2 separate regions of the Homo sapiens genome follow, and region 1 is linked to region 2. The links are contacts of gene promoters, found by promoter capture Hi-C in human tissues and cell types (Jung and others, 2019). All regions are on one chromosome and are shown on one strand. Each heading gives the region's core, a stretch centred on a gene start or on the middle of the fragment in contact. The rest is flanking DNA. Distances are from core to core; before and after follow the strand shown. Region 1 overlaps LOC105370679 (a long non-coding RNA gene). Region 2 holds the start of CDC42BPB (CDC42 binding protein kinase beta).

Evidence for each region. Contacts are between HindIII fragments. The study calls those that stand out against the background at their distance.
Region 1: a fragment that was not itself captured here is called in contact with the fragment with the promoter of CDC42BPB in region 2 in 2 of the 25 tissues and cell types used here (dorsolateral prefrontal cortex and small bowel).

Annotation. Positions count from the first base shown.
Region 1 is chr14:102,512,753-102,516,434 of GRCh38, forward strand. It overlaps LOC105370679 (a long non-coding RNA gene), which reads left to right. Exons shown (of 4, transcript XR_007064352.1): 2 at 1-62; 3 at 479-582; 4 at 1,450-1,602. Among named protein-coding and RNA genes, the nearest start is that of ANKRD9, 4.8 kb to the left of the region's middle. The HindIII fragment of the contact is 6,246 bases long and covers 1-3,682 here.
Region 2 is chr14:103,055,724-103,059,042 of GRCh38, forward strand. It overlaps CDC42BPB (CDC42 binding protein kinase beta), which reads right to left and starts at 1,826. Exons shown (of 37, transcript NM_006035.4): 1 at 1,276-1,826. The coding sequence starts at 1,450. RefSeq lists silencers at 1,498-1,577, 1,668-2,167, 2,208-2,317 and an enhancer at 2,313-2,963. The HindIII fragment of the contact is 24,533 bases long and covers 1-3,319 here.

The DNA.
Region 1 (3,682 bases), core at 885-3,384, 540 kb before region 2:
CTGATGGTGCCCTCCACGGTGGTTTCATGGCATCGCTGCTGCACTAGAGGCTGCCCAGGGACGTGTGAACAGCTGTGAAGGGGCAGGTTCCTCAGGGAGGGAGGATGGGCTGCGGGGAGGGTGGCTGGGGCAGGGGAATGGGCAGAGCATGACTTCCAAACACCTAGGAAGCCCCAGGTGGAGGGCGGAGGGGGGTCTTGCCATCTTGGGATAGGAGTTGACCTTTGACCCCATCATGCTCCTGCTGGGACCTGACCCAGGCACACTCCTCTTCCTCTGGGAGGGCTTGTCCCACCAGGGCAGGGGTCTGTGTGTGCCCAGGCAGGGAGCCACAGGCAGTAGGGGGAGGCTGGGGCTGCAAGCACAGAGGCCCCGGAAAGTGTGTGAGGACGCTGGGGAGTGGGAAGGGCCCTCGGAGGGGTGGTATGGCCGGCTTAGGTTTTCTCGACAACTCTAGTTGAGTATGCACTGCAGGGAGACGGAGAGGCCGCAGCCACTGAAGCCAACTGTGCTGGAGCAGGCGGAGGGCACCAGGGGTCCCTGGAGAGAAGTGCCGCCTCCTGCCAGGCCCCTGACCTATAGGTGAGGGTGTGAGCAGAAGAGGAGAATCTAGGAGGCCTCCCGGGTATTAGGGGAAAGCTGAGCACCTGGAAGATGGCAGAGCCAAGAGGTGTCCATGGCCCTGGAGATGGGGTCATGAGTATAAAGAGGGCGCTTGGAGTGTGAGGCACCAGGGATGGGAGGTGAGAGGCCCGAGGCCCCAGCCGGGGCTTCCAGGAAAGGAGGTGGGAGAGGGTCTTGGGGCCAAGAAGGCACAGGGCTTCCCGAAGCCAAGGTGTCCCAAAAATAAGGGAGCGGTCGGCTGGGACAGATTCAGATGTGGTGGCTCACACCTGTAATCCCAGAACTTTGGGAGTCCGAGGCGGACAGATCACCTGAGGTCAGGAGTTCAAGACCAGCCTGACCAACATGGTGAAACCCTGTCGCTACTAAAAACACAAAATTAGGCCTGGTGGTGCATGCCTGTAATCCCAGCTACTCGGTAGGCTGAGGCAGGAGAATCGCTTGAACCCAGGAGGCGGGAGGTTGCGGTAAACTGAGATCGCGCCATTGCATTCCAGCCCGGGCAACAAGAGCAAAACTCGGTCCATAGGTCACAGTGCCCTTTACAGAATGTCATGGGGTTAGGGGAGAAACCTGTTTGGAGAGAGTTCAGGAGCAAGCGGGGAGCGGGATAGAGCTGTGAGGACAGGAGAGGAAGGGGCAGGCTTAAAGAATGAAACGGTGGAGATAACACACGTGCACATGCATGTATGTGCACTCAGACACGTGGGTAGGCCCACACATGCATCTGTGCATCATGGGCGGCACGCTGTGTGTGCATGCGTGTGCGTGGGCAGCATGCTGCAGCCTGCATTTGTGTGTCCTGTGTGTCCATTATGTGTGCAGTGCGCTGATGGGCAAAAACGCTGACGATGCAGGCCAGCTGATAACCTGGAGGAGGCCGGCTGGAGTGGGGCCTGCCACACGTGAGGGGTACCCTGGGCTGGCGACATGGGCAGTTCTTCTTGGGGGGGGGCAGCATGTTGGGCACAGACACAGAGGAGGGCACAGGTAAAGGTGCTCGGAGACATCTGCTCTGGTGGCTTCTATTTTCAAGGCCATCTGCTGAGAATAGGAAGGGGTGGATGGTGGGGAGGGGGCTGGAGGAGAGGGCTTCATTTGCTGACTACACTGAGATCCTCTCTGACCTGAGCCCCTGCCACCCAGCCAGGCCTGCGGAGCCTGCCATCTGCGCAACTGGGATGGGACAGGTGGCCGCGGCCAGGAAGGCACCACAGGTGCAGGCAGGAGGGCAGGCAGCTTCCTCAGGGAGGGGCTGGCACCAGACATGCTGGATCCCGCCTAATCAGCCACCCACCAGTGGTGGGACTGGGCTGAGCACCAGTCACTTATCTGTGACATGGGTCAGGTGGATTTTGGGTGTCAGAGGGAAGGTGTTTCATGTGGCAAGACTGGCAAGGCCAGCATGCGGAGTGGCTAGGACCGGGTGAGAGCCTGGGGGTGTCCCAACACTTGCCCCACCTCATGCAGGTTCTGTCCTTCCACTGCCTGGCCAGACCAGACCAAAGCTCACCTGGCCTTTAAGACTGGCACCTGCACCAGGAGCCACTACTACTCCCTCCTACGGTGGCAGGCTGGGCTCTGCCCCACCGCGTCTGCAGCCCCATCAGCTGGTCTCTCAAGGCTCAGCTTTGGGATGCCAGTACAGACCAAAGACAGGACAAAACCAGTGGAGACAAGGGACATCCTGGGAGCCGAAGGGTCCAGCATGTATAGCCAAGGAGTGGCGTCTCAAGTGTGCAGGGAGCCCCCAACATAGCTGGAAGATCGGCCCGGGGGAAGATGGGCGAGGGCACCATAGGTTATCCACATGCTGGCCAACAGACACGTGGAGATAGACATTCAGCTTTGCCAGGAATCAGCACGTGTACAGGCTCCTGGCGAAAACTGAGTAGACTGGGAAAGCCCGTGCTGGCCGGGTTAGGACTCAGGCACTTGCCCCACCAGCAGGGAAAACTCACATGCTTGGGGGCCCGGCAGATCCTTCTGTAGGCATCTTATCACAGGTGAATACCTGCCTGTGTACTAAGTTACATATACAATACAATGCTCACTGCTGTGGATTTTGTTCTCTTGCTTTTTTTTTTTTTTTTTTTTTTGAGACAGGGTCTTGCTCTGTTGCCCAGGCTGGAGTGCAGTGGTGCAATCATAGCTCACTGCAGCCTCACTCTCCTGGGCTCAAGTGATCCTCTCACCTCAGCCTCCCAGGTAGCTGGGACTATAGGCACATGGCCACCACACACAAAAAATAAATTTTTTAATTTTTATTTTTGTAGACATGACACCAGGTCTTGCTATGTTGCTCAGGCTGGTCTTGAACTCCTGAGCTTAAGCGATCCTCCTGCCTCAACCTCCCAAAGTGCTGGAATTACAGGTGTGAGCCACCTCAACTGACTTAATTATTTAATGTTTCATAAAATAATTTAGCAGCCGGGGGCAGTGGCTCACACCTGGAATCCCAGCACTTCGGTAGGCTGAGACAGGCAGGTCACCTGAGGTCAGGAGTTTGAGACCAGCCTGGCCAACATGGTGAAACCCCGTCTTTACTAAAAATACAAAAAAAAATTAGCCAGGCATGGTGGTGGGCACCTGTAATCCCAGCTACTCGGGAGGCTGAAGCAGGAGAATCACCTGCACCCGGGAGGCAGAGGTTGCAGTGAGCCGAGATGGCGCCACTGCACTCCAGCCTGGGTGACAGAACGAGACTCCATCTCAAAAAAAAAAAAAAAAAAAAAAAGAATTTAGCTGAATTTTGTATTTTCTTTCTTTCTTTTTTTTTTTTTGAGACGGAGTCGCCCAGGCTGGAAGCTCTGCCTCCCCGGGTCACGCCATTCTCCTGCCTCAGCCTCCCGAGTAGCTGGGACTACAGGCGCCCGCCACCACGCCCGGCTAATTTTTTTTGTATTTTTAGTAGAGACGGGGTTTCACCATGTTAACCAGGATGGTCTCGATCTCCTGACCTCGTGATCCGCCCGCCTAGGCCTCCCAAAGTGCTGGGATTACAGGCGTGAGCCACCGCGCCCAGCCTTATATTTCATGTCTATTTCATTATTAAAGC
Region 2 (3,319 bases), core at 576-3,075:
ATTGCAACTTAAGTTTTATTTGTAAACAAAATTCCAAATTCCAGTCACCAATCTGGCAGAGTAGAGTAGGAGGCCTGGAGGCCTCACTGTGGAACACTTTCATTTGTTTCTTCGTATAAATATCAGCTTTATCAGCCCCAAAGATTAGAAATTACTGGTTCGAACTGAACAGTCCTAGCCCAGTGACGCAAATGACCCAAGGATAAGGTTTTCATAGGTTTGGCCTGAACATACGCATTTCCTCCTCCTACTCAGTGGTTTTAGGTGAGACAGTCTGAGGGTCTTGACCGGCACACCCGTTAGGGAGAGATGAAGTAAAAGAGTTTCACGCTGCACTTTTACCTGTCTTTAGGATCCTAATTATCGTTAAATGGTTTAATCAAATTTTTGTCCTAAAAAAGCATAATAGGTTAGCTGACCAATGATTAAAACATTATAGATCCGGAACGAACTAGAGAAGGCATGCAAAATTCAGATGAGAAAGTTTCTAAGTGATAGCTCCAGCTACCCCTCCAAATATCACAAAGGTCTAGCAGAATTGGAATTAAAAAAAAAAAGTCCTCTTGCACGGTTTATTTAAAATAAAGCCTTAACCTTAAAATTCCCTTGAAGGTGTTACAGCAAAGTAGGTATTCAGGCTCTGACCAACAAGGGGATGTAGACAGGCTGTCACCCAGGAGGGGCCGTTAGAGCTGGGCTCCCTGGGGATGCAAGGGGGTCCCACGGGGCAGTGGGCGAGGCAGATGCAGAAAGCACACCCAGCTGCCCCCACAACGCAGAGAAGCGTGGGGTGGGGAAAGGGAACTAATTCCACACTGCCTCCGGACCCCAAAGGCGAGGTGCGGGGGCGGGGGCGGGGGCGGGGGCGGATATCCCAGTGAGTGCTGCAGGAAATGATATCCAGACTCGGAGGGTGGATCTAGGAAGCCGCCAGGGCGAGGGCCCGGCGGGGGGGAGGGGGTGGGAGTGGGAACGTAGGATGTGGCTCCAAGGGGCAGGATGAGGGGGCGGGACGATCGAACGCGGATGTCGAGCCTAGGGAGGGCAAGGAGGGATGAAAAGCTAGCGGAGGGACGAGGGTGCAAGGAGCGGCTGGAGAGAGATGGGCTGCGGGCCTGGGGGCGCTGCCAGAGCGAGAGGAGGCGAAGCCCACGAGCTGGGTGGGCAGGAGGGCGGCAGGGTCTGTCCGGGCGGGGATGGGCGGGCGTGGGGATGCGCGGGCTGGGGCGCGGGGGTCGCAGAGCCGCAGGTCCGGCCCTGCCGGCGCGCACTTACCCCACTCGAGGAACTCGGCCACGTACTTGTCGCGGCGCAGGGCCGAGTGGCTGCACTCGGTGTACAGGCAGACGAGCACGTCGAGCAGCGTTTCCACGCTCAGGGCGCTCTCGTTGCGCCAGGGCCCGTCCAGGAGCAGCTGCTCCAGCTTCTTGAGCCGCACCTTGGCCGACATGGTGCCGCGCGGCCCGCTCCCGACGCGCCGGCCTCTCACCGCCGGCTCGGCCAGTCCGTCAGGGCGCGCCCTCGGGGGCTCGGCGGCTGCGAGCCCCGGCAGCAGCGGCGCCTCCTCGCCGCCCCGTCCGCGTCGTCGCGCCCCGGCCTAGGCCGACATCTTGGGCTCCGTCCCGACGGCGCAGAGTCTGGGGCGCCGGGCCCCGCGGGTCCATGGGCCGCTCTCCTCCCCTCGGCGCCGCCGCCCTCCCAGCTCGGGCGGCCCGCCCCCGCCGCCCTCAGCCCCGCCCGCGGCCGCGCCCTCCCCGCCGCCGCCGCCGCAGACTAGGAGCGGCGAGGAGCCTAGCGCTGCGCAAGCCCGGCCGGCGCCCGAGCCCGACCCCAGCCCCGACCCGGCGGCCCAGCCCCGCGGCCCGCAGCCAACCAGGGCGCGGCCAGCACCAGCGCAGCCAACCACTACGGGGCCGGCCGCCGCCGCGCTGACCTCAGCGCGCCGCCCCGCCCCGCGCCCGGCTCCCTGCTCCCGGCGGGCTCGGGCCTCGCCGCTTGCCGTAGGGAGCCGGGATGCTGGGAAGGCAGGGCCGGGCCTGGGGAGCGGCGCGGGGTGGGGGTGGGGGGGGCGGGGCGGGGCGAGTGGGCCGCTGAGATTGCGGAGCCCGCGCATGCGCAGAGCGCGCCTGGTGGGCGTGTGCGCCTTCGCCCTGCGGACCCGGTGCCTTCAGTATTCGGGGTCCGACCGCGCGCGTCGCGGATCCCGGGGCCGAAGACGACCCCAAGTATCGGAGAGGCAGAGTCGCGATCTCAGGCCGTCGAGCCCCGTCCCGCAGTCCGCGGGCCCATGTTGCCTGCGGGGCCTCGGACCTGCCCGGCCGAGGTGGGGGTCGAGGGCGGCCCGGCAGGCGCAGCTCTGATGGCCTCGGCGGGTTGTGGGCTATTTAAAACGGCTTGTCCCAGCTCGAAGCGGTCCTGGAAGACTCGGGCCCTACCCCTGACTTTACCGATGAGAGACTGAGGCCCAGACGGTGTGGGGTCAGGGCCCAGGCTTCTGGGGGATGCTGCCAAGGCGGGAGCCAGCGTCCCCAGTGCCCGGTGGATTCGTGATGGCTTGCAGAGGGTTTCAGTTTCCACTGTCCAGCCCTCCCTGCAGACCAATGCCTAGGTGTGACAGTTTGGTAGGAAAGGGGCCGGATATTTGTCTCCAGGCTGGGTTTGCCTAGCGAGTCGCTGCATTTACTAAGATTGTTGGTTAATTTGGGTGGCTGGGGGAGGGAGGCTGATGGAGATACCCCCCAACCCCAACAAACCCTTGGCGTCAGGAGAGGAGGGGCTTTTCCTGGAGCTTGCGGAAGGTCACCGAAATCGTGGGGGTATCTGAGAGCTTCTGGGGCGCGCGGGTGCAGGGGAAGGGGTCATGCTTCCGTGGAAGCGGTGGCCTCCAGGTGGAGCCGATGAAGGGGCAGATAGGGGTTTGAAGCAGGACGTTAAGGGAGCCTGAAGCAAAACTAATCTCTGGAGCTAAAAATAGGAGTGGGCCTGGCGCGGTGGCTCACACCTGTAATCCCAGCACTTTAGGAGGCCGAGGTGGGCGGATTGCCTGAGCTCAGGACTTCGAGACCAGCCTGGGCAACACGGTGAAACCCCGTCTCTACTAAAATACAAAAAACTAGCCGGGCGTGGTGGCGCGCGCCTGTAGTCCCAGCTACTCGAGAGGCTAAGGCAGGAGAATTACTTGAACCCGGGAGGCGAAAGTGCAGTGAGCCAAGATCGCTCCACTGCACTCCAGCATGGGCAACAGAGCACGACTCCGTCTTAATAATAGTAATAATAATAAGAAGAAGAAGAAGAAGAAGAGGAGTGGCTGCCTATGCCG